Linked DNA regions of Homo sapiens: regions 2, 3, 4, 5 and 6 are each linked to region 1. The links are contacts of gene promoters, found by promoter capture Hi-C in blood cells and fetal thymus (Javierre and others, 2016). All regions are on one chromosome and are shown on one strand. The core of a region is centred on a gene start or on the middle of the fragment in contact, and the rest is flanking DNA. Distances in the headings are between cores, read along the strand shown. Region 1 holds the start of NAB2 (NGFI-A binding protein 2). Region 2 overlaps BAZ2A (bromodomain adjacent to zinc finger domain 2A). Region 3 has its middle 6.4 kb from the start of ATP5F1B. Region 4 overlaps NACA (nascent polypeptide associated complex subunit alpha). Region 5 overlaps PRIM1 (DNA primase subunit 1). Region 6 has its middle 5.0 kb from the start of PRIM1.

The links. Contacts are between HindIII fragments. The CHiCAGO score rates a contact against its expected background, and 5 or more counts as called.
Region 2: a fragment that was not itself captured here is called in contact with the fragment with the promoter of NAB2 in region 1 in 1 of 17 cell types (monocytes); the score reaches 5.1 in monocytes.
Region 3: a contact is called between a fragment that was not itself captured here and the fragment with the promoter of NAB2 in region 1, in 1 of 17 cell types (M0 macrophages). The highest score is 5.4, in M0 macrophages.
Region 4: a contact is called between a fragment that was not itself captured here and the fragment with the promoter of NAB2 in region 1, in 2 of 17 cell types (erythroblasts and M0 macrophages). The highest score is 7.7, in erythroblasts.
Region 5: a fragment that was not itself captured here is called in contact with the fragment with the promoter of NAB2 in region 1 in 1 of 17 cell types (endothelial precursors); the score reaches 5.1 in endothelial precursors.
Region 6: a contact is called between a fragment that was not itself captured here and the fragment with the promoter of NAB2 in region 1, in 11 of 17 cell types (erythroblasts, total CD4 T cells, naive B cells and 8 more). The highest score is 9.5, in erythroblasts.

The regions. Positions count from the first base shown.
Region 1 is chr12:57,087,281-57,091,603 of GRCh38, reverse strand. It overlaps NAB2 (NGFI-A binding protein 2), which reads right to left and starts at 2,490. Exons shown (of 7, transcript NM_005967.4): 1 at 2,250-2,490; 2 at 1-479. The coding sequence starts at 2,332. It also overlaps a transcript of NEMP1 not described here. RefSeq lists silencers at 2,279-2,898, 3,899-3,958, 4,139-4,288 and an enhancer at 3,169-3,218. The HindIII fragment of the contact is 12,439 bases long and covers 1-4,323 here.
Region 2 is chr12:56,609,535-56,613,857 of GRCh38, reverse strand. BAZ2A (bromodomain adjacent to zinc finger domain 2A) reads left to right here. Exons shown (of 29, transcript NM_001300905.2): 5 at 625-843; 6 at 1,612-2,085; 7 at 2,225-2,285; 8 at 3,341-3,449; 9 at 3,643-3,744; 10 at 3,912-4,122. Among named protein-coding and RNA genes, the nearest start is that of BAZ2A, 19 kb to the left of the region's middle. The HindIII fragment of the contact is 1,811 bases long and covers 1,383-3,193 here.
Region 3 is chr12:56,650,183-56,654,505 of GRCh38, reverse strand. No RefSeq gene overlaps it. Among named protein-coding and RNA genes, the nearest start is that of ATP5F1B, 6.4 kb to the right of the region's middle. The HindIII fragment of the contact is 2,056 bases long and covers 1,210-3,265 here.
Region 4 is chr12:56,718,755-56,723,077 of GRCh38, reverse strand. It overlaps NACA (nascent polypeptide associated complex subunit alpha), which reads left to right. Exons shown (of 9, transcript NM_001365896.1): 3 at 1,619-4,323. Among named protein-coding and RNA genes, the nearest start is that of NACA, 4.4 kb to the left of the region's middle. RefSeq lists an enhancer at 2,143-2,262. The HindIII fragment of the contact is 4,291 bases long and covers 1-4,047 here.
Region 5 is chr12:56,737,911-56,742,233 of GRCh38, reverse strand. PRIM1 (DNA primase subunit 1) reads left to right here. Exons shown (of 13, transcript NM_000946.3): 8 at 397-488; 9 at 658-799; 10 at 2,871-2,940; 11 at 3,709-3,800. Among named protein-coding and RNA genes, the nearest start is that of PRIM1, 12 kb to the left of the region's middle. The HindIII fragment of the contact is 3,398 bases long and covers 424-3,821 here.
Region 6 is chr12:56,755,166-56,759,488 of GRCh38, reverse strand. No RefSeq gene overlaps it. Among named protein-coding and RNA genes, the nearest start is that of PRIM1, 5.0 kb to the right of the region's middle. The HindIII fragment of the contact is 3,519 bases long and covers 115-3,633 here.

The sequences.
Region 1 (4,323 bases), core at 1,241-3,740:
GGCCTGGCCAGATCCGGGGGTCCCCTGCCCCAGGTCCCCCAGGCAGTGGTGATAGCTTCTCTCCAAGTTCAAGGGGGCTCTTGGGGCTAAAACTGCGGGCACTGCCTGCCTTTTCCCCTGGGCTGCCATGCCCATTGCTCATGCTCCCTTTCCGGGTACCCGCAGTCTCAGAGATCTTGAAGAGCGGGATGCTGGAGACGGGAACAGCAGGCACTGGTTGACTGAAGAGCCCTGGATTGGTGGCCCACTCTCTCAGTGCCTTCTGCAGGCGCCGGACATGGAGGGGCTTGGTGGCCATGCCCACAAGTGCCATGATCTCCAGAAACTCCTCCTCACCCGCCTCACACAGCTGCTGCACGTCGTCCCCTCCCTGCTGGATGAAGGTCTCATAGTAGGAAAGGAGGTTGGCGCGCTGCAGGACCCGGTACAGCTGCAGCTCCCCCAGCGTCCGAGGCAGTGCCATGGCTCGGGCACTGGGCCTGAGAAGGAGGGGCACAAGAGAGAGGCAGTCGGTGCAAGTCCCCCTACTGGGTACCAACCCACACTAACAATTGTTCCCTCTTTCCTGCCTGCTTTTCTTCCCCTCCCTCATTTGGATGCTATCCTGCCCAGTGCCCAGGTCTGAGTACAGACTCTCAGAATCAGGCACTGCTCAGAGGCATGGACAAGCCAGTGCCGTCCTAGACTGGCCCGAAGCCCCAAAAGTCAGTGGCCTGTGTCTGTAGGAGTCGAAGCGTCTTACAACCTTATCTTCAGCTTTTATCTTTTTGGTCTGGGGCAAGAAGAACTTGAGCGCTGAGGCTGACCAGCACCGACCTGGGATGGCTGGACCTCCCTCTCCCCCAAAACACAATCCTCACCTTCCCCTCTAAACACTCAGCAGTCTCAACACTGAAGTGAAGTCACCCATACTAAAGTGAATGTAGGAGCCCAGTCTCCCCCACAGTGGACGCTGCTGGCCAGCTTCATTCCCTGTGAAGGGGCCACAGCCCCAGGTGGCTAAAAGGGAGGGTGTGGCACCTTCCCTGGCTTTCCCACTCAGTGAGCCAGGTGGTGCCTTACTCTTCTCCGCTCAGCTTTTCCCAGGGGTTAAGCATTTATTTATTTATTTATTTATTTATTTATTTGAGACGGAGTCTCGCTCTGTCACCCAGGCTGGAGTGCAGTGGCGCTGTCACTGCAACCTCCGCCTCCCGGGTTCAAGCGATTCTCCTGCCTCAGCCTCCTGAGTAGCTGAGATTACAGGCGCCCGCCACCATGCCCGGCTAATTTTTGTATTTTTAGTAGAAACGGGGTTTCACCATGTTGGTCAGGCTGGGCTCGAATTCCTGACCTCGTGATCCACCCGCCTCAGCCTCCCAAAGTGCTGGGATTACAGGCCTGAGCCACCGGGCCCGCCCGGCCTGGTTAAGCATTCTTAACGCACGCTTCCTCTCTCCCCTCAGAACCTCTCCACCCTTCCAGGCTGCCCAGTGCTCCTCAGTGGCCCCTCTCCTAGCAGTGACACTCCCCACTTCCTCGGTCAGCCTTTTCCTTCAGCTCAGGGGCCGTGGCAGGGGGAGGGGCGCAATTGTTCTGCTCCGGGGCCGTTCCGCCCACACACACTCCCACAGTGGTAGCGTCTGTAGGCGAAAACCGCCCAGGGGCTCCCGCCTACTCTCCTCTCCCATATTTTCCACCCGCATCTTCAAGTGGAGTGGGGGAGCGGCTCAAGGCCTCTTGATGAAGGGGCTGCACACTGAAACTCCCCTCCCCGCTCTGTGAATAAAGGGACAGATATGGGAAGGAACGCCTAAGGCCTCCCTGCCTCCCTCGTCACCCCCCCTTTCCCCCGCTGATGCTCCTTTAACTCAAAGGCACCGGGGGCCCGCGCGCTCCGTGCCAACGAGGGACTGAGGCAACTGAGCGTCCCCCCACCTTCCGCACTGATGCCAGCTCGAGCTCCAGGGCATCCCCTGGTGCTTGGAGGCTCCCACATTCTTTGCAGGGGGCTCTTAGGCCAGATGGAGCCCACAGAGTAAACCAGGAATGGAGATTTGGGTACTACTCTTTCATATCCAGCTTCATCAGATGCTTGCCTGCTCCCAGGGCCCCCTAATTCGAAGACGCACCCCCTTTTCCATCAGTCTCCACCCCCCACCCCCGTCCTGCTTCCCCACGTCCTCCCCTCGACCTCCGCCCTCTGGACCCCATTCCCAAGTCCAGCTCCACCCATCTCCACTCCCCGCTGCCTCCCTTTGCCCACTAACTTGAGTCTGGGCTGCAGGGTCCGGCGGGCGCTGTCCCCTCCGCCCGGCGGCTGCTCGGCTGTGGGGGAAGGCGCTCTGTGCATGGACGGCCGGAGATCACCCGGGCTGCCCTTCTCGGTGCCCGGCGCTCGGCGCCTGCTGCGTGCTGCCCTCTTCCCCGCGCACGATGCCGTGTCCACCGCTGTCCAGGCTCTGTCCCTCCCTCCACGTCTTCTCTCTCCGAGCCTCCGCGCCTCTGTCTGTGCCTCTGCCCCCCCACCCTCCCCGGCTGCGCTTGCCGCCTCTCCGCGCCTCCGCCCCCGCAGGACGCACAGGGAGCGAGGCCCGGAGCTGCGCTGGCTGCCGGGCTGGCGGGCGGAGGGCGTGGGCAGAGCCGGGGGCGGGGGTGGGGGCGGGGGCCGGGGAGGCGGGCGCTGGGGCCTCTCGGCCGCGGAGACGCCGCGGCTTAGAGACTGGGAGAGGCGGAGACGGGGGGGGAGGGGGTGTGGAGCAGGAGGCGGGGGCGGGGATTCAGAGCCGGGGCGCCGAATTGGGGACCGAGGTGACCGAGGCCCGGCTGTGCAGGGCGGGCTTGGGGACCCAGCGGGCGGGGCGAGGTCGTTCTGTGCCGCCCACGCCGGATGCACAGCCGGCCCTCTTGGCGCCCACGTACCCACGTGAGCGCCCCGCCGGCGACATTCCTTCTCTCCCCCACCCCTCCGAGCTGAGAGAGGAGTTTCACAACCACGCACAAGTACACAAAGACACAGAAGCGCACGGACGTGCACACGCGCCTAAACAACTACGGGGACGCCCGTTGCCCATACTCAGGCCTTGTGGTGCTGGACGTGTGAATGTTAGCAGTGAGCCGGGAAAAGTTAGCGAAGGCTGGGCTGTGCGGCTTCTCCTGTGCGTGCATCTGACTCCCGTATAGTGTGCACTTAAGGCGGGCCTGAGAGCGTGGGGCTCTGCAGGGATCTCCTAGATATCCCCGCGCCCCTCCTCAGCCCCAATGGAATAATCTGAGGGGGTCGCTCTCAGAAACCCAGGCCTCCATGCTAGCCTGGAAAGTTTGGGAAACAGGAATGGGAGGGTTATGCTGCACGCCACCACTTAGGTGCGCGTGTTGATTAGACGCGTCGGCTTTTGTCAGCGCGTAGGTCAGGCAGGGATTCCTCCACTTGTCCTCTGTTTGCTGAGGATGAGGCCCTGCCTGGGAATTTTGTGTGACAAAGACGATACCCTTCCTGGGGCCGTCTATTAGGGACCTCGCCCGAGAGTCTAGTGGAAGATGAGTAAGAGGTCGGGAGCCTACGACGTGACTTCCTGCGGCGGAGCTGGAAGGAGGAGCGCCTTGAAGGAGCTTAGCCCCCGCCTCTGCAACCCACCACCGTCTCCCCCTTTGGTTTCTCCTAGCCCCATCTGGTTCGCATTGCACTCCCGCCCACGGCTGGGAGGGCTGTTGGGGGAGGCGGGGGCTCTAAGGGCCCGGCCCATAGACTCTAAGCCCCAGGGAAAGGAGGGGGGGTGGGGGCCGGGGAAAGCGAGCGGACTGGCCACAGGTGAGGTTTCCCCTAGTCCGGAATCTCAGCCCCGCCCCGCCTCTCTGTCCGCACTTCTGAGGGGCTGGGGTGGGGCATGGCGGGGCGTGGAGGCCGTGGACCGGGGCTGGTTTTACAATGTGGCCTAGCGAGGAGACCTTTCCGCCTTGTGGGGTCCGGGGAGAAGGAGCGCGTTGTTGGTGGGAGGATTTCAGTTGCTCAGGTCCTCTTCTCCAACCTATTAAGCGCCAAACACAGTGGGGGTGGTGGGAACGAGCAGAGTCCCGTCTCCCAGTCCCCCGCCCCGCAACTGGAGGGTGCGGCTAGACGGGCTCCCCTGGGGACGCTCCCGACCCCGTACGGGGTGTGGGCGACCCCTCCCCCCCCACCTCAGGTTATTTTGGATCCCGGGCTGCCAGCCGCTGGCCCCGGGTTTCCACGTGCCCCCTCCCTCCCCCAGCCCACGCTCCCCGTGACGCACATCCTCCGCCCACGCAGCCTCTGCTCGAGGCGCCCCCCTCCCTCCCACCCCGGCCCCCTTGGGGCGGCGCTGA
Region 2 (4,323 bases), core at 1,039-3,538, 480 kb after region 1:
AGGGGCACTGGGGCTTCCAGGTAGGCCTAAGGCAGACCACAGTTACATGCCACAGGACTTGGTGCCCTAACTGAATTCTGAGCTGAATTGGTTCATGTCCCAGGTTCTTTCCCAGTATTCCTTTTGGCCAAGAGCTCTGGGCTGTAATAATTCACTGGGTAGGGACTTATTATCACACAGTTGATCTTTCTGGGTTCTGACAAACTAGGAAGAAAACATTTGTCAGTGAGCAGTTACCTTTTACTCCACTGAAGTACAAGAAAGACATATTTTATGATAAATCCTAGAATTTTGCATAGGTCTCTGGGTAGATAATACCACCAATGCCTTTCCTTTCATTTTCACCTTGTAGAGATGAGGTCTTGCTATGTTGTCCAGGCTGGTCTTGAACTCTGGCCTCAAGCAATTCTTCTGCCTCGGCCTCCCCTCAAACTTTTATGATCCCTATAATCTCATGACTACTCTTTCAGGGAGAAGGCTTTACTTGTTACCTAACTTAATATTAGGAAGAATCTTCACATTGTGGGAACTAGAATTGGATGTTTTCTGACCAGTGTTTCTTAAATCTTGCTTTCTGATTTTTTTCTCATTATCCTGCTCTGATTTTTCTACCCTTGTAAACAGAGCCAGTGAGTGGAGGACTATATGGTATTGATGACACGGAGCTGATGGGTGCAGAGGACAAGCTGCCTCTTGAGGACAGCCCTGTGATTTCTGCCCTTGATTGCCCTTCCCTCAATAATGCTACTGCCTTCAGTCTCCTGGCAGATGATAGTCAAACATCAACCTCTATCTTTGCCAGTCCCACCTCTCCACCTGTCCTAGGGGAGTCTGTCCTGCAAGGTAAGTGACGGTAGGTAGGACAAAGAAAGACCTTTACCTGAGAAAAGATGAGAGAATAAGTTTCATAGTTAGGGCCTTAAGAGTGGGAAATCTGGCTGGGCGCAGTGGCTCACGCCTGTAATCTCAGCACTTCGGGAGGCCGAGGCGGGTGGATCACCTGAGATCAGGAGTTTGAGACCACCTGGCCAACATGGTGAAACCCCGCCTCTACTAAAAATACAAAAATTAGCCAGGTGTGTTGGCACATGCCTGTAATCCCAGCTACCTGGGAGGCTGAGGCAGGAGAATCGCTTGGCCCCAGGAGGCAGAGGTTGCAGTGAGCCGAGATTGTGTCGTTGCACTCCAACCTGGGCAACAGAGCAAGACTCCATCTCAAAAAAAAAGTAGGAAAGCAAGAGCACCTTGCTGGGAGCTGAGGGGCTATGGGATAGTGTATGGTGGAACTAAAAGAGGTATAGGCTGCTATACTCCGACCTGTGCCCTCTGCTTTGAAGAACTTGTGAGACTTGGAATTTGTAGGGAGAAGGAGGCTAGAAGCTTTATTGGCACCAGGTAAAAGGTATTTCTTCACACAATGACATCTGTAGCAACTTTACCCTTTAATCCTCATGATTGGTTGGGAGAAAAAGCTACTTCTTTTTCCAACCCTAGGGAAGACCCCTTGAAGTAACCCTGTTTAGCTTGGTCCAGGGTTGACTGAGTAGATTCTCTTGTTTTATGTGATGCCTTTTTTTTTTTTAAAGCCTATCCTGTCCCTTTGGATTCTAGATAACAGCTTTGACCTGAATAATGGTAGTGACGCTGAACAGGAAGAAATGGAAACTCAATCTTCAGACTTCCCACCATCCCTGACCCAGCCAGCTCCTGATCAGTCATCCACTATTCAGCTACATCCAGCAACCTCACCAGCAGTCTCGCCAACAACCTCCCCAGCAGTCTCCCTAGTGGTTTCTCCAGCAGCCTCCCCAGAAATCTCTCCAGAAGTTTGTCCCGCAGCTTCTACAGTTGTCTCTCCAGCAGTCTTCTCAGTGGTCTCTCCAGCTTCCTCAGCAGTCCTCCCAGCAGTCTCCTTAGAAGTCCCGTTGACGGCTTCAGTGACATCCCCAAAAGCCTCTCCCGTAACTTCCCCAGCAGCTGCCTTTCCAACAGCCTCCCCAGCAAATAAGGATGTCAGCAGCTTTCTAGAAACCACTGCTGACGTGGAAGAGATCACTGGAGAAGGACTCACTGCTTCTGGTAGTGGTGAGTATCCAGATTCTATTCTATCCCTGTCTGGTTCCAAGAAACTTTTCTGTCCCATGTTGTAGTTAGCCTTTCCCTATTGGCCTATTGTTTAAATATTTTGCTTGAACTCTTAACTTGGGTATCCCTTCCTCCCAAGGTGATGTCATGAGGAGACGTATTGCTACCCCAGAAGAAGTTCGTCTTCCCCTCCAACATGGGTAAATGCTCTAGTTTGCTACATTTATTGACCTTGACAAGTTTAATGCACAACTCTAGAAAGAAGGGAATGCCTCTTTTCCTCTGAGGTGGGGGAGGAATGGGCCAGACAAGAGTAGATTACAGGACAGTTATCTGCAGTGATAATGTTTCTTGGCATGAGATTCCTAGGTTTTCCTTCTTCTCTCAAGGTCTGTCTTCCATCACCTATTCTTTTTTCATCTTGTAGTGACTCAATTTTGCCCAAGGAGCTCCAGCTATTATCTTTTCCAAACCCTAGGGCTCACATCCAAACCAGCTGGCTTGTCCTATTTCTGTGGACAAGGGATAGTAATGAATGAGGAGTGACTTAGTACTAATGAATTGAGGTGGTTTTGTTGTTTTAATGCTCTTAGGAGAGGTAAGGGCAGGAACAGTACATGACCAAAATGAACAAACTAGCTGACACCAGGGCCTTGTGGAAATAACTGCCTTCCTGGATCTTCCCCACCCCTGCCCCTCAAGGCTACTTGTGGTCACCAAGTCTGAGTACTGCTTAAAATTTTGAGAGAAAGATTAGAGTTAGTCTTAGAACTAACTCTGACTAACTTTGTGTTCTGCTCAGAACACAGAGTTCCTAACTAAACCCTGGCATATTGAGTCTTTTCATGGAATCAGCAGCAAATTTATTTTTCTGCTTGCCTCCCTGCCCTTTGTCTTCTGTCTTTATTCCCCTTAGGTCTTTATCCTCTTTACTGGAAATCCAGTAACTGCCCTGAATGGCTCAGGGAGGGGTTTCTGGCAGCTTATCTCACTGATTTTGTAAAGGAGGGATGGAGATCTCTCTGAGCTTGTGCAGTTTGGTGTAGTGCTTTTCTCCTAAGGGCCTTGATGTATTTGCTGGAGCTCAAGTCAGCCTTCTAGCCAAGCTTATCTCTCTTGGTGCTTTTGCATCTGCATGCAGTTCTAGAGATACAAATGTGGGGAGGGCCATCTGCTCAGAGGGCTTCGCGCTTAGGTGGCATGGGAGTGGGTAGGGGTGTGACCTGGCGGCAGGGCCCATGTGCTTCTCTGGCAGGTGGCGGAGAGAGGTGCGCATCAAGAAGGGCAGCCACCGATGGCAGGGGGAGACCTGGTATTATGGCCCCTGTGGGAAGAGGATGAAGCAATTTCCAGAAGTGATCAAGGTAATGTAGCTTTTTTTAAAGGACTGCTTTCTTGGGCTCAGTGGACTCCTTTCCACTGCCCAAGACTCCGTTCTTGGGCTCAGTGACAACAGGCTGGCATTGTCTGCTCTGGGCCTGTTCTGCTTATGCCTTTGCTGGCCAAAGACATGGTAGGATCCAACTTTATTAATGTTACTTTACTTCTTCCTCTTAGTACCTGAGCCGCAACGTGGTACACAGTGTCCGCCGAGAGCACTTCAGCTTCAGTCCCCGTATGCCTGTTGGAGATTTCTTTGAAGAAAGAGACACGCCAGAGGTGCAGACCCAAGGGTTAAATATGCTTTTGTCCCTGAGGAAGAGTTGGTGGACAAGCTGCAGCTTCCTCTCGTGGGGTTTGAAGGTTCTGGGGCATTGAATGGTTCCGAGGGCCTCGTGGCCTGCACTGATTCCTTACTACTGTAACAGTCTCCCTTGCTACCTTAGGGCTTGCAGTGGGTGCAGCTCTCAGCAGAGGAGATCCCGTCGAGGATTCAGGCAATTACTGGCAAACGGGGTCGACCTCGAAACACTGAGAAGGCTAAGACTAAGGAAGTCCCCAAGGTGAAACGGGGTCGAGGTCGGCCACCTAAGGTCAAAATCACTGAGCTATTGAACAAGACAGACAACCGCCCCCTAAAGAAACTGGAGGCCCAAGGTACAGTGGTATTTCTTACTTTGGGATTCTGCTCCCTCCATGAGGTATCTAAAATGTTGATGAATTGCTAATACCTGGATTTCCCAGGAGTGTAACTAACATTATCTGGGAAGAATGAATCTGAATCAGCTTCTCCTTGGAATCCAGCATCCTAGTCCCAGCGCTTGGGAATACTACTTTTCCAGCCATGGTCTTTCTTGA
Region 3 (4,323 bases), core at 988-3,487, 440 kb after region 1:
AACAAAACAAAAAACAACAATAGGGTATCAGGGGAACCAGCCCCTAATATTTCAACATAGGTTCTTTTCTATTTTCCCTAAGTGTCAGCCGGTCTGAGAAATAAAGGGAAAGAGTACAAAAGAGAGCAATTTTAAAGCTGGGTGTCCGGGGGAGACATCACATGTCAGCAGGATCCGTGATGCCCCCTGAGTTGCAAAACCAGCAAGTTTTTATTATGGATTTCAAAAGGGGAGGGGTGTACGAATAGGGTGTGGGTCACAGAGATCACATGCTTCAAGAGCAATAAAATATCACAAGGCAAATAGGGGCAGAGTGAGGTCACAGGACCAGGGCAAAATTAGAATTGCTGATGAAGTTTCATGTCCCACTGGGCACACATTGTCATTGATAACATCTTATCAGGAGACAGGGTTTGAGAGCAGACAACCGATCTGACTAAAATTTACTAGGCAGGAATTTCCTAATCCTAATAAGCCTGGGGGTGCTACAGGAGACCAGGGCTTATTTCATCCCTTATCTATAACCATATAAGACACACACTCCCAGAGCGGCCATTTTAGAGACCTCCCCCTGGGAATGCATTCTCTTTCTCAGGGCTGTTCCTTGCTGAGAAAAATAACTCAGCGGTATTACTCCTATTCGCTTTTGTAAGAAGAGAAACATGACTCTGTTCTGTCCGGCCCCACAGGCAGTCAGGCCCAATGGTTATCTCCCTTGTTCCCTGAAAATCGCAGCCATCCTGTTCCTTTTGGATGTCCAGATTTCATATTGTTCAAACACACATGCTCTACAAACAATCTGTGCAGATAATGCAATTATCACAGGATCCTGAGGCAACATACATCCTCAGCTTATGAAGATGACGGGATTAAGAGATTAAAGACAGGCATAGGAAATTATAAGAGTATTGATTGGGGAAGTGATAAATGTACATGAAATCTTCACAATTTCTGTTCAGAGATTGCAGTAAAAACAGGCGTAAGAAATTATAAAAGTATTAATTTGGGGAACTAATAAATGTCCATGAAATCTTCACAATTTATGTTCTGCTGTGGCTTCAGCCGGTCCCTCCGTTTGGGGTCCCTGACTTCCCGCAACAATAGGGTTTCCATTTTTATGAGAATCTAATGCCATCACTGATCTGACAGGAGGCAGAATTCAGGTGGTAACGTGAGCAGTGGGGAGAAGCTGTAAATACAGATGAAGCTTTGGTCACTCGACCACAACTCTCCTCCTGCTGTGTGGCCTGGTTCCTAACAGGCCATGGACGGGTACTGGTCTGTGGCCCAGGCACTGGGGAACCCTGCATTATATGTATATGAAACAGAAAGTGAGTGGAATGTATGCAAAAAGTTTTTTCAATGGTCATTTTTGGGAAGGACAGTGGAAGTTTTGGAAGTAATGGTGAAAGAACTCATCCTGTACACCTAGAATATGTTCATATGTTACTTGTGTAATAAATAGTGCTTCCAAATTGTGACCTAAGAAAGGAATATTGGATTTCTGAAAGAGAATATTTCAACTTGGGAATGGCTGTGGAAGTAGGCTGCTTATGTGAAATGGGAATGTGAAAAACTAATTGGAATTGAAGTGGTTGAGGATCTCTGAAGCCAGGGCATTGAATGGGTTCTTTTCGTGGAATTTGAAATAATCCGGGATGATTGTCAAGAAATGTAGTAGAGACCAAAAAAACACATTCCACCAATTACCAGAGTACTGGAAGGATGTGGGGGTATGACCAATGTGGATAGCAGTAATGAAAGGATTTGGTGGAAAATGTAATTTTCACTTCAAGATGAATTTTAAATTACAGAGCACAGTCATTTGGAATTAACTTCAGATAAGAAACCAGATTGGGTGGGTCTGTGTGGTTCCTATTCCCCTGTGAAAAATAACTTGTACTTTTTTTTTTTTTTTCCATTCAGGTTCCATTTATTTTTGACATTTTTACATAACCATCCTTGCAGGGGTAACTCCTGCATCACTCTAGAACTTCAGGTTCCGTCCCTCTCCCTCTCCCTCTCCCCCTCCCCTCCCCCTCCCCTCCCCCTCCCCCTCCCCCTCCCCTTCCCTCTCTCCATGGTCTCCCTCTGAAGCCGAGCCGAGGTTGGACTGCACTGCCGCCATCTCGGCTCACTGCAACCTCCCTGCCCGACTCTCCTGCCTCAGCCTGCCGATCGCCCGGGACTGCAGGCGCGTGCCGCCACGCCTGACTGGTCTTTGCTGGAGTGCAGTGGCATGATCTGGGCTCGCTACAGCCTCCACCTCCCAGCCTCCTGCCCTGGCCTCCCAAAGTGCCGAGATTGCAGCCTCTGCCCGGCTGCCACCCCATCTGGGAAGCGAGGAGCGTCTCTGCCTGGCCGCCCATCATCTGGGATGCGAGGAGCCCCTCTGCCCTGCCGCCCAGCCTGGGAAGTGAGGAGCGCCTCTTCCCGGCCGCCATCCCATCTGGGAAGTGACGAGCGTCTCTGCCTGGCCGCCCATCGTCTGAGATGTGGGGAGCGCCTCTGCCCCGCCGCCCCGTCTGGGATGTGAGGAGCGCCTCCGCCCGGCCACGACCCCGTCTGGGAACTGAGGAGTGTCTCTGCCTGACCGCCACCCCGTCTGGGAGGTGAGGAGCGTCTCTGCCCGGCCGCCCCGTCTAAGAAGTGAGGAGCCCCTCCGCCCGGCAGCTGCCCCGTCTGGGAAATGAGGAGCGTCTCCACCTGGCAGCCGCCCCGTCTGGGAGGGAGGTGGGGGGCAGCCCCCGCCCAGCCAGCCGCCCCGTCCGGGAGGGAGGTGGGGGGCAGCCCCCGCCCGGCCAGCCACCCCGACTTGTACTTTATATAAAATATCACTTGGACAATCTGGGTCTCAATCAAGAAATACGTAGGAAAGGCCGGCCGCCGTGGCTCACGCCTGTAATCCCAGCACTTTGGGAGGCCGACATGGGCGGATCACGAGGTCAGGAGATCGAGACCATCCTGGCTAACACAGTGAAACCCTGTCTCTACTAAAAAAAATACAAAAAAATTAGCCGGGCGTGGTGGCGGGTGCCTGTAGTCCCAGCGACTCGGGAGGCTGAGGCAGGAGAATGGCGTGAACCCGGAGGCGGAGCTTGCAGTGAGCTGAGATCGTGCCACTGCACTCCAGCCCGGGCAACATAGCAAGACTCCATCTCAAAAAAAAATATGTAGGACAAAAACATGTTACAACTCTAAAATAGATTACATTATTTATTCAGAATGCTGGTTAAGGCATATCTCAATCTGAGCTAATCAAGCTTATTCTATTTTAGACATTATTACTTATATTAATAAATTTAACTGATTTCAGAGGAGAGGGAGAGGAGGTTGTTAAAGGCCAACATTGATAGCAACAGAGTGAGAAAAATTAAGAGTTCACAAACTTCAGCTTAATGGTCTCATGGAGAAATAGCTCTTTTTTACTTTTAACTTTTTTTTTTTTGAGATGGAGTCTCCCTCTGTCGCCCAGGCTGGAGTGCAGTGGCGTGATCTTGGCTCACAGCAAGCTCCGCCTCCAGGGTTCACGCCATTCTCCTGCCTCAGCCTCCCGAGTAGCTGGGATTACAGGCGCCCACCACCACACCTGGCTAATTTTTTGTATTTTTAGTAGAGACGGGGTTTCACCGCGTAAGCCAGGATGGTCTCAATCTCCTGACCTCATGACCCACCTGCCTTTGCCTCCCAAAGTGCTGGGATTACAGGCGTGAGCCACCATGCCCGGCCCTTTTTTTTTTTTTTTTTTTTTTTAATAGAGACGGGGTCTCCCTACATTGCTCAGGTTGGTCTCAAACTCCTGGGCTCAAGGAATCCTCCCATCTTGGGGTCCCAAAGTGCTGAGATTACAGGCGTGAGCCATGGAGCCCCACCTCATTAACACTGAAAGCATTTAGCATTGCAATGTGATAAAAAGGTTTGTTGAATGAATAACCCTAATACCCAAGAAAAGTTAAATTACTTGGTAATTTGATAAGAGGACAAATGTGTGATACATTTCAAAAAGTGATGATCTTCGGTTACCTGGTATGAATGTTTTTCTTAGAAACTTGGATTAAGAAATGTCACCAGGCGCGGTGGCTCACGCCTGTAATCCCAGCACTTTGGGAGGCCTAGGCGGGCGGATCACGAGGTCAGGAGATCGAGACCATCGTGGCTAATATGGTGAAACCTCGTCTCTACTAAAAATACAAAAAAAAAATTAGCTGGGTGTGTGGTGGCAGGCGCCTGTAGTCCCAGCTACTCAGGAGGCTGAGGCAGGAAAATGGCATGAACCCGCAAGGCAGAGCTTGCAGTGAGCCGAGATCATGCCACTGCACTCCA
Region 4 (4,323 bases), core at 653-3,152, 370 kb after region 1:
TTAATTCTGATTCATTATGTTTGGTAGCGTTTTCCTGTAATCGTTAGACTTTGGCCTACCCACTCTCCAGGAAAAACTAGTTGAGCCACCTTGTCTTTTCCATGGTAGGATGCCATAAGAACTTCAGAATTACTGGTTGAGTGAATTTTGAATTTGAATTTTGGTACCACGGGCTTCCCCCCCGCCCCCCTTAACATTCCCTTCTAAGCATTGAGCATTTGTTGATCCAATTCTGTGTTACCTCCTGAATGCCAGAGATACTGTCTTACTGTCATGCCAAACATTGGTGTATTTTGACATAATGAAACACTTAAATTCCAAGTTAAGGAGTGGGGATCCAGTGTATTCTCGCCACTCCAATTGTCTTCTTTGGTTTGTTTTGTTTTGAGACGGAGTCTCACCCTGTCACCCAGGCTGGAGTGCATGCAGTAGCGCGATCTTGGCTCACTGCAACCTCCACCTCCTGGGTTCAAGCCATTCTCCTGCCTCTGCCTCCTGAGTAGCTGGTATTACAGGTGTACACCACCACGCCCAGCTAATTTTTGTATTTTTAGTAGAGACGGGGTTTCACCATGTTGGTCAGGTCGGTCTGGAACTCCTGACCTCGTGATCCGCCCTCCCAGGCATCCCGAAGTGCTGGGATTACAGGCATGAGCCACTGTTACAGGCTCTCCAATTCTCTTCTTCCAAAATAGCACCACAATCTGGTTTAACAAGTTAGGTTACAGTTTCATAATACAGTCCCTACCCTTGTGAGTAAGCTCTCTGCCTGGAGGTCTAATTCATGTCTAATTCATCTTGGATTGATGTCTGAAGAATTAACATCACCTAGGAAGGTTTATAGAGACTATTACAGTCCTTTTGTGGTTGGTTTTCTTGTTTGGGTTTTGTGAGTAAGTAAACTGGTAAGGTATAAAGAAGCTAAGTGACTTTAATACTTGATATTAAATTCTGAAGTGTTTCAACTTTAGGAAGAACTGAATTGTGCTGTGCACCTCCTTCCCAAAACTATTCTAACAGAGTCAGATGTTTCCTAGCCTAGTGGAAGCCTGAAAGTATAAAAGCCTGTGTTTTCTTATTCAGTTCAGATTCCCCATCATCGTCACTGCTCACTAACTTCTTTGTTCCAGTTTTCAGTATCTTTTCTGTTCATGATATTTGGGTGGACAGAGTAGCACAGCTGTTCTTCTCGTGGGAATTCTGTTGGCTGTGAGAAAGACTTGGGAATACAGTCCATTTCAAGAAGTAAGGGGAGGGCACAACTGGGAAAGGATAGAAAGCATGTTGTTCTCAACCTACCAAGAGTCTGTGCTCCCCATTTAGAGATAGGCTGCTCTTAGACTGTTCTCCTCACCCTAAAATAGTTGGTTTACTTTGGTAGAACTTGGGGAAGTGTGAGAAATTAGGAGGGGAATGTCTTCTCACTTGACCACTGAAAAATGTTTGGGGAAGGTTGTTGTTGCCTGTCACCTTTATCTAATCCTGCGTGGTGACTTAGACTGTCAGATTTTAAACTCCAGTGTTTCCTAGGAGGCATGTTGTACCAAGTTGGGCTGCATAACTCACCTTTTTTCTCCTCCCCCTCCCCCTTTCTTTATCTCCTTTTGCCTTTCTCCAGCTGTGCTACCTATGTCTTCAGCCTTGAGTGTCACTGCTGCCTTAGGGCAGCCTGGACCTACCCTCCCCCCTCCTTGCTCTCCTGCCCCACAACAGTGCCCTCTCTCAGCTGCTAACCAGGCTTCCCCATTCCCTTCCCCCTCTACTATTGCCTCGACCCCTTTAGAAGTTCCTTTTCCCCAGTCATCCTCTGGAACAGCCCTACCTTTGGGAACTGCCCCTGAAGCCCCAACCTTCCTACCAAACCTAATAGGGCCTCCCATCTCCCCAGCTGCCTTAGCTCTAGCCTCTCCCATGATAGCTCCAACTCTGAAAGGGACCCCTTCCTCTTCAGCTCCCTTAGCTCTGGTTGCCCTGGCTCCCCACTCAGTTCAGAAGAGTTCTGCTTTTCCACCTAACCTTCTTACTTCACCTCCTTCAGTGGCTGTAGCTGAGTCAGGGTCAGTGATAACTCTGTCAGCTCCCATTGCTCCCTCAGAACCAAAGACTAATCTTAATAAAGTTCCCTCTGAGGTAGTCCCTAATCCAAAAGGCACCCCCAGCCCTCCATGTATAGTCAGTACTGTTCCTTACCACTGTGTGACTCCCATGGCCTCTATTCAATCTGGAGTGGCCTCCCTTCCTCAGACAACACCCACAACTACCCTAGCCATCGCTTCCCCTCAAGTCAAAGATACCACCATTTCCTCAGTTCTGATTTCTCCACAAAACCCAGGAAGCCTCAGCCTGAAGGGGCCTGTTAGTCCACCTGCTGCCTTATCTCTTTCAACTCAGTCTCTTCCTGTGGTGACCTCTTCTCAAAAGACTGCGGGTCCCAACACCCCCCCAGATTTTCCCATTTCTCTGGGCTCTCATCTTGCACCTTTACATCAGAGTTCTTTTGGTTCTGTCCAACTTTTAGGTCAAACAGGTCCTAGTGCTTTGTCAGACCCTACAGTGAAGACCATTTCTGTAGATCATTCTTCCACAGGGGCCTCTTATCCTTCTCAGAGATCTGTAATTCCTCCCCTTCCTTCCAGAAATGAGGTAGTTCCTGCTACTGTGGCTGCCTTTCCAGTGGTGGCTCCATCTGTTGACAAAGGTCCCTCTACCATCTCTAGCATAACCTGCAGCCCTTCTGGCTCCTTAAATGTAGCTACCTCTTTTTCATTATCTCCTACAACCTCTCTCATTCTCAAAAGCTCTCCTAATGCCACTTATCATTATCCTTTAGTGGCCCAAATGCCCGTTTCTTCTGTTGGAACCACCCCACTTGTGGTGACTAACCCCTGTACAATTGCTGCAGCACCTACTACTACCTTTGAGGTAGCTACTTGTGTTTCTCCTCCAATGTCATCAGGTCCCATAAGTAACATAGAACCAACTTCCCCTGCTGCCTTGGTTATGGCACCTGTGGCTCCCAAAGAGCCTTCTACTCAAGTAGCAACCACTCTGAGGATACCAGTCTCTCCTCCTCTGCCAGACCCTGAAGACCTCAAAAATCTCCCCAGTTCAGTATTGGTTAAATTTCCAACACAAAAAGACCTCCAAACTGTACCTGCCTCTCTTGAAGGAGCCCCTTTCTCTCCAGCCCAAGCAGGACTCACCACCAAGAAAGACCCTACTGTATTACCGTTAGTCCAGGCAGCCCCTAAAAATTCCCCTTCTTTCCAAAGTACATCCTCTTCTCCAGAGATACCTCTTTCTCCTGAAGCCACCCTAGCAAAGAAAAGCCTTGGGGAGCCTCTCCCTATAGGTAAGCCAGCCAGCAGTATGACCTCCCCTCTGGGTGTTAACTCCTCGGCCTCTGTAATCAAGACAGATTCTTATGCAGGCCCAGACTCTGCTGGTCCGCTTCTCAAAAGTTCTCTCATTACCCCAACAGTGGCTGCATTTCCTTTGGAAAGTGCTGACCCTGCCGGGGTGGCTCCCACAACTGCCAAAGGTACCTCAACTTATACAACTACAGCCAGCCCTTTTCTAGAAGGAACTGTCTCTTTAGCTCCTAAAAACCACCCAGTTAAGGAAGGTACTCTTACTACTTTACCCTTGGTTCCTACAGCTTCAGAAAATTGCCCTGTGGCTCCATCCCCCCAGAATACCTGTGCTCCTCTGGCTACCTTAGTGCTGGCCCCTGAAATCCCAAAGTCTGTGCCCTCACCCTCTCTTCCCCCAGCTGGGACTCCTCCAGGTACAAAAAAGGTTGATGGTATTTCTCATACTTCAGCATTGGCACCTGTTGCTTCCTCTCCCAAAGAGTGCCCAACTGAGGACTCTGGTGCTTCTGCTACTGCATCTTCCAAAGGAACTCTGACTTACCTAGCTGATTCCCCATCTCCTTTAGGGGTTAGTGTGTCTCCTCAGACTAAAAGACCTCCAACCAAGAAGGGTTCTGCTGGCCCTGATACTCCTATTGGAAATCTCTCATCCCCTGTTTCTCCAGTTGAAGCTTCATTTCTTCCAGAGAATAGTCTTTCTTTCCAAGGCTCTAAAGACTCACCAGCCACGACGCATTCTCCCACTCCTCCATCCCCCAAAGGGGCCCCTACTCCCTCAGCTGTGACTCCTCTGTCTCCCAAAGGAGTAACACTACCCCCCAAAGAGACCCCCACTCCTTCAGTGGTGAATCTGCCCTTCCCCAAAGAGGGTCCAGCTACTCCAGCACCCAAACAGGCTCCTGCTCTATCCATGACTTCTTCCTCCCCCAAAAAGGCCCGAGCAACTCCA
Region 5 (4,323 bases), core at 873-3,372, 350 kb after region 1:
TTGCCCAGGCTGTAGCACAGTGGCACAATCTCAGCTCACTGCAACCTTCACCTTGCAGATTTAAGCAATTTTCCTGCCTCAGCCTCCAGAGTAGCTAGGATTACAGATGTGCACCACCATGCCCTGCTGATTTTTCTATTTTTAGTAGAGATGGGGTTTCACCATGTTGGCCAGGCTGGTCTCGATCTCCTGACCTCACGTGATCCACCCACCTCTGCCTCCCAAAGTGCTGGGAGTACAGGCATGAGCCACCACGCCCAGTCAACATTTATATTTCAAGAAATGTTAATAACTACTTTCTGAATATTTGTAAGACACCCTTGTGGTAATACATACTTAAAACTAAATTGTTCATTGATGTTCCCTAAATGAGTCTGTTCCTTAATGACCCATCACCAATTCATGATGAACTTCAACAAAGCTTCCAAAAGTCTCACAATTCACTTCAGCGTTGGGAGCACTTGAAGAAAGTAGCCAGCAGATATCAGGTATATGCCACTGAAATCTGTATTACAGATATAATAATGCAATTCTTAATTAAATTGATTGCTTTGCCTAGTCAGTTAAAGATGGTTGAAGATCGTTTTTTTAACTTTCTTTAAAGAAATCTTCAACAGTTCCTACTGATCCTCATGTTGGCCTTGTATCTGCTTTTAGAATAACATCAAAAATGACAAATATGGACCCTGGCTGGAGTGGGAGATTATGCTCCAGTACTGTTTTCCACGGCTGGATATCAATGTCAGCAAAGGAATCAATCATCTACTGAAGAGCCCTTTTAGTGTTCATCCTAAAACAGGTACTACACAAGGAAACTAAGGAAAACTAAAAGAAAAATGAGTTGCTATTGGCTTTAGTAAGCATGGCATTAGGTCTGAATATATATAATGTCTATGATTTAAAGGTAGAAGAATTGCTCTGTCACCCAATACCTAAGTCAGTTAAGTAGCTACCAGATGAGTTTCTACTATGTAACTGTTTTTCAGTTGGGTTTCTGAGGTTCCATATTAGATTTGGAGAGGACCATCAAAATCTTAGGACAACAGCTCTCATTGTACAGATGAGAAAACAGTGGCCCAAGATGTAACCCATCCAAGGTCATAAAAAAAAAATTGTGTGTGACTGTATGTGGTAGCTTGCTCCTGTAATCCCAGCACTTGAGGAGGGCAAGGTGGGCAAATCACTTGAGCCCCAGAGTCTAACACCAGCCTAGGCCACATGTCTAAACACCCTTTGTACAAAAAATACAAAAATTAGCTAGACGTGGTGGTGCATGCCTGTAGTTCCAGCTACTCAAGAGGCTGAGGCAGGAGGATCACTTGAGCCTGGGAAGTTGAGGCTGCAGTGAGCTGTGATGGTGCCACTGCACTCCAGCCTGGGCAACAGAGTGAGACCCTGTCTCAAAAAAAAGAAAAAAAGAAAGAAATGAAATGAACTCTACTCCTAGCACTGACAAAAACAAAAAAAAATTTTTTTCGAGAAAGAGTCTCACTCTGTCACCCAGGCTGGAGTGCACTGGTGCAATCTCGGCTCACCGATCGGCTCAAGCGATCCTTCTGCCTCACCCTCCTGAGTAGCTGGTACTACAGGCATGTGCTACCACAGCCAGCTAATATTTTGTAGACAGGGTTTTGCCATGTTGCCCAGGTTGGTCTTGAACTCTTGAGCTCAAGCAATTCACCTGCCCCAGTCTCCCAAAGTGCTGGGATTACAGACAAGAGCCACTGCGCCCAGCCTCATTACGTCACTTTTGAGATGTGTTAAATTCTATATGGTATCCTAGGGGGGTATTATAAAAGAGTAGAGGAATTTCTATTTTATTTCCTAAATGCTTTTTAAAGGTGTCTGACATGTGGGTATCTGTATTGATCTCAAATAAACCAAGCCAATGTAAATATTATAGTTTCATCTATTTTGTTCTATTTTCAGGACTCACTAACTCTGAGATTGTTCTGAACTTAAATATGGAATATTTAAATATACTTTATTTCTAAATATAGAAATAAAAGTAGGGATAAGAGCAACTGGGAAATAGCTCAACAGTCTTCACATTTGCTTATTGGTTTTTGTTTTTGTTTTTTTTCTTTCCTTTTTTTTCGAGACAGAGTCCCACTCTGTCACCCAGGCTGGAGTACAGTGGCGCGATCTTGGCTCACTGCAGCCTCTGCCTTCCAGGTTCAAGCAATTCTCTGCCTCACCCTCCCAAGTAGCTGGGATTACAGGTACCCGCCACCACACCCAGCTAATTTTTGTATTTTTAGTAGAGACGGGGTTTCACCATCTTGGCCAGGCTGGTCTTGAACTCCTGACCTTGTGATCCACCCTCCTCAGCCTCCCAGAGTGCTGGGATTACAGGCGTGAGCCACTGCACCTGGCTGGTTTTTTAAAGAGAAATAAAAGGCATGCTGGACATGGTCATTCACACCTGTAATCCCAGCAACTCAGGAGGCTGAGGCAAGAGGATTGTTTGAGGCCAGGAGTTCTGGGCAACATAGTGAGACCCCAACTCAACAAAAATTGAAAAACTGGCCAGGCCAGGAGCAGTAGCTCACGTCTATAATCCTAGCACTTTGGGAGACAACTGAGGTGGGAGGATCACTTGAGCCCAGGACATCAAGCCTGCAGTGAGCTATGACCATGCTACTGTATGTACTCTAGCATGGGTGACAAAGTGAGGCATTAACTCTAAAAAAGAGTAAGGGCACAGCTAATGTGAAAGTAATTTATATTTCTAAATACTCTTCTTAACAGATAAGTTTAACCCTTTGTCTAAGCCTTAAATAAAAATTTTAACCAAAAATAACCTGTAGGAGATGACTATAATGATTTATAGTCCACAATCATCAGTTTATAACTTTTGTGTCTTACAGGTCGCATATCTGTGCCTATTGATTTGCAGAAAGTGGACCAGTTTGATCCATTTACTGTTCCGACCATAAGGTATGTTTCAGATCATTGATCACTCCTTGTTTGTAATTGTTGTTATGAATTTTAAATAAATTGAATTAGCCTCCTTAGAGAAGTAGTTGCATGGGAATGGTATATTTGGTTATGGAAACCAAATAAGGTTCAAAGGTTAGATGACGATGCCCTAATAGAACAATACAAGATTTTCACCTGCTGTTATGTAAGAAAAAGATTTTAAGGTCAAGTAAATTTAGGAAATTCTGACTTAAACAGATTAAAAGTATCTTTTACTACAGTATTTCACAGTCTTTCATATGATAATATGCATGAAAAACTCCAAGAAGAGATCATGGTGTTTAGAATATCCCAAATTTAGCTGGCCGCATAATTTTTTTACAGTAAATTTTATGGGATTCACATGCTATTATACACTGGATAATGCTGATCAGAAACCAACATTAAACTTCTCTTGTTCGTGGTGAGGCGCGGTGGCTCATGCCTGTAATCCCAACACTTTGGGAGGGCAAAGCGCGTGGATCACAAGGTCAAGAGATCGAGACCATCCTGGCCAACATGGTGAAACCCTGTCTCTACTAAAAATACAAAAATTAGCTGCGCTTGGTGGCATATGCCTGTAGTCCCAGCTACTTGGGAGGCTGAGGCAGAAGAATCACTTGAACCTGGGAGGCGGAGGTTGCAGTGAGCCAAGATCGCACCACCACACTCCGGCCTGGCAACAGAGCAAGACTCCGTCTCAAAAACAAAAACAAAAACAAAATTCTCTTGTTCTGTTACTTGCAGCTTCATCTGCCGTGAATTGGATGCCATTTCCACTAATGAAGAGGAAAAAGAGGAGAATGAAGCTGAATCTGATGTCAAACATAGAACCAGAGGTAAGGTAATATTTTGAAGCTTCACTTTAAATACAGGGTTTTTATATAGATATCCATCTGTCACTCCAGTAATTAATTCTCTGATTCAACTAGAATGGATCAGCATTTGTCCTGGAACTGCATACAATGTTTGTGTCCTTTCTTCAACAGCAGCCCAAGTGGTGTTATTGAATCCAGTCTGATTCAACACATATTTCCTAAGTAACTTTTAATGCTAGGATCTATACTGTAAGATTAAACTATCAATAAGTATGAATAATCAGTCTCTGAGATTCACCACCTATTTATTTAACAACTATTATATATGCAGTACTTTTTTTCTTTGTTTCTGATGCATATAGGTGGGTTTTATGGTAAACATATGTCTAAACTGTTTACCAAGTTGTATATTCAAGAATTTGAAGAAGCTGGCTGGGCGCAGTGGCTCACGCCTGTAATCCCGGCTCTTTGGGAGGCCGAGGCAGGCAAATCACTTGAGGTCAGGAGTTCAAGACCAGCCTGGCCAACATGGTGAAACCCCAAC
Region 6 (4,323 bases), core at 625-3,124, 330 kb after region 1:
TCCTTTTGTTTATTATGCTCCTGTGTCAATAGAACATATTTGAAACTGTCCTTATGAACCTTTGAAAATTAATCAGGAAAGCAGGGAGAGAAAGAAATGAAAACAAACCAAGCTTGCAACACATTCAGCATTAATCATTAGGTCAGCCGGCTCTCTGACCTGCTTTCTCATCGTTGTTTAGGCATATTGTCCTAGAATCACATAGATCAGACAGTATAGTTCCCCTTAACTGCTCTATTATAGATAACAACTTGAACATTATAAAATGTTGTTTCCATTTGAGATATCCTTTCAGGTCCTGCACACCAGTGAAACTAATGAGGTCAGCTGATCTGAAGGACCCCATCGACATCAGCAGTTCTGAAGGATCATACAAGGAGCTGACTCACTGAATGCAGTTTCCACATCCTGACGACTTCATCCCTTTGACCCCAACCACTCAATGACCCCAATTTTCCAGTCCCTCATTCTCCACAATCCCCTTAAAAACCCCAGCCCAGAACTCCTCAGGGAGATGGACTTGAAGATCTCCTCTCATCTCCTTGCTCAGCCGCCCTGCAATCATTAAACTCTTTCTCTGCTGCAAACCCTACTGTCTCAGTGTATTGGTATGTTGCTGTGCAGTGGGCATACAAACCTGTTGGTCCTGTAACATATTTTCTAATCTTCTCTTCTTTATTTTATTAACAAGGAAAATAACTAACATAGGAGTACTCCAAGTTTTCAAGCAACTTACTTACTTCAACAGGATTTTAACTCCCAAGGCTTCTTGTCAAATATTAATAGGATCAATAGTTTATTTTCATTTTAACCAAATAAAGTAGATGATGAATAATTTTTACTTCCACACTCCTTAACTTGGCAGGCAATGCTCTGACCATGGCTTACCTCTTAGCCCCATCTCTCACTATACCCTCCCTTGAAGTCTGGGCTCTGTCCATATGAAACTATTGGCAGCTTCCCAAAAGTGCCATTTATACTTTTGTGCCTGTGTTCCCTGTACTAATCTTATCCATGTCTTAAGAACATGGCAAAACAAATAGACAGTTGGGTTAAAAATGCACCTATAATACTTCATTACGCTTTTTTGGGGCGGGGGGACAGGGTCTTGCTCTATCACCAGGCTGGAGTACAGTGGCATAATCACAGCTCACTGCAGCCTCAACCTCCTGGGCTCAAGCAATCCACCTCAGCCTCCCTGGGACTACAGGCATGAGCAACCATGCCACACTAATTATTGTATTTTTTGTAGAGATGGGGTTTCGCCATGTTGGCCAGGCTGGTCTCAAACTTCTGAGCTCAAGTGATCCACCTGCCTCTGCCTATCAAAATGCTAGGATTACAGACATGAGCCACCATGCCCAGCTCATTCATTACACTTTTTTATTTGTGTCTATTGCCCCTAGTATGATATAGCTTTCTCAGAAGCAGAAATAATGTCATTAATTATTTTCCCCACAGTTCATCTCAGTGCCCAACACATATGTTCATTAACTATTTGTGGAATAAATGAATGAATTCATGAATGACTGAATCAACCATACCTTTACAGAATAGATCATCCTTTCAGATGCTAAAAACACCCAGAATAACAATAGGACTTAAACTAGACAGGCAATCAATGAGGCAAGTGTCGAAGTCTGCAAACAACATGGGGCAAGAAACTTGAGGCTGATAGATATACCACAAAAAAAGACTAAAAACGATGGTAGAGCCAGGTAGCATAAGGACTGAAGGAAAAAAGGGGTTTGCACCTATGTGTATGAAATCACAAAGGGAAACAAACTGAATGGTGATACTGCCTCCCAGTGGCATTTGAGATAAAGGCCTCTATGCCAGAGCACTTTTTTTTTTTTTTTTTTTTTTTTTGAAATGGAGTCTCACTCTGTCGCCAGTCTGCAGTACAGTGGCGCCATCTCAGCTCACTGCAACCTCCGACTCCCTGGTTCAAGCGATTCTCCTGCCTCAGCCTCCCGAGTAGCTGGGACTACAGGCACATGCCACCACGCCCGGCTAGTAATTTTTTTGTATTTTTAGTAGAGATGGGGTTTCACTATGCTGGCCAGGCTTGTTTCAAACTCCTGACCTCATTATCTGCCTGTCTCGGCCTCCCAAAGTGCTGGGATTACAGGCATGAGCCACCTGGCCTGGCCCGTTCCTCTGAATATACTTAATATACCCGAGGTGGGCTGATTGCTTGAGCCCAGAAGTTCGAGACCAGCCTGGACAACACGGTGAGATCCCATCTCTACAAAAAATAAAAATAACAATAAATTTAAAATTTAACCCTTTTCCCATTTGCCCCAAGAATACTTGCTGGCAGCACTTGTAGCTGCAGCATTTATCCAGAGATAACTTTGCCGTGAAATATCTTGCTTTTATTATTTTCATATTGCTCTAGTATTACTGACTTTGGAAACAAAAGACATCATTCTATTAACAGCATTCTGTTTTCAGTAGTGGTACTTCCACTTACAAAATACAGTAATTCTGATCATTAAAACTGTCAAATCCTAGAAAATGCTGAATTCCTATGTATGATGTTAACATCATTCTTTGATTAATCCACAATTCTAATTATTCCAATGACTTTAATGTTAGTTCTGTTTAGAAATAACTCCAAGAGGCCAGGCGCAGTGGCTCCCACCTGTAATCCCAGCACTTTGGGAGGATGAGGTGGGTGGGTCGCCTCAGGTCAGGAGTTCAAGACCAGACTGGCCAACATGGTGAAACCCCATCTCTACTAAAAATACACAAATTAGCCGGGCATGTGGGCAGGCACCTGTAATCCCAGCTACTCAGGAGGCTGAGGCAGGAGAATGGCTCGAGCCTGGGAGGCAGAGGGTGCAGTGAGCCGAGATTGCACCACTGCATTCCAGCCTGGGCGACTGAGCGGGACTCTACCTCAAAAGAAAGAAAGAGAGAGAAAGAGAGAGAGAGAGAGAGAAAGAAAAAGAAAGAGAAAGAAAGAAAGAGAGAGAGAGAGAGAAAGAACTCCAAGAACAGTTTTTATATTTTATTTTCACATTGGAAATCAGTCAGATTTGTTTCAGCCTCAAAGAGCATGCTTATGTAAAATTAAATGACTGCTGGCAGCGAGCTGCACTTTTTCCTTCCAAACAGGAAAAGCGTTAAAAAAAAAAAAAAAAAAAAAAAGAGGCTAGGCGTGGTGGCTCACGCCTGTAATCCCAGCACTTTGGGAGGCTGAGGCGGGTGGATCACAAGGTCAGGAGATCGAGACCATCCTGGCTAACATGGTGAAACCCCATCTCTACTAAAAAAATACAAAAAAAATTAGCCGGGCGTGGTGGCGGACACCTGTAGTCCCAGCCACTCAGGAGACTGAGGCAGGAGAATAGCGTGAACCCAGGAGACGGAGCTTGCAGTAAGCCAAGATCGCGTCACTGCACTCCAGCCTGGGCGACTGAAAAAGACTCCGTCTCAAAAAAAAGAAAAGAAAAGAAAAAGAAAATAGGGATGATGTTGGCAACTACCGCATAGAGTTCTCATGAGGGATAAATTCATAAAATGGTACCTGACATCATGGCAAAAGCTATATACAGGAATACCTCATTTTATTGTGCTTCACTTTATTATGCTCCAAAGATATTGCATTTTTTACACATTGAAGCTTTGTGGCAACCCTACATACAGTGAGTCTATTAGTGCAATTTTTCCAACAGCATGTGTTTGCTTCATGTCTCTATGTCACATTTTGGTAATCCTTGCAATATTTCAAACTTTTTCATTATTATTGTATCTGTTACGGTGATCCGTGATCAGTGATCTTTGAGGTACTATTGTAATTGTTTGGGGGTGCAACGAACTGTGCCTATATAAGAAGACAAACTTAATCAATAAATGTTGTGTGTGTTCTGACTGTTCTGCCAATATGCTGTTCTCCTCTCTCTCTCCCTCTCCTCAGGCCTCCCTATTCCCTAAGACACAACAATATTGAAACTAAGCCAATTAACAACCCTACAATGACCTCTAAGTATTCAAGTGACAAAAAGAGCCCCACATCTCTCACTTTAAATCAAAACGTAGAAATGATTAAGCTTAGTGAGAAAGGAATGTTGAAAGCTGAGACAGACCAAAACCTAGGCCCCTTGCACCAAGCAATTAGCCAAGTTGTAAATACGAAGGAAAAGTTCTGTTTTTTTGAGACAGGTCTCAGTCTGTTGCCCAGGTTGGAGTGCAGTGCCCTAATCTTGGCTCACTGCACCCTCCGCCTCCTGGGCTCAGGTGATCCTCCCACCCCAGCCTCCCAAGTAGCTGGCACCACAGGCCTGCGCCACCACACCTGGCTAATTTTTGTAGTTT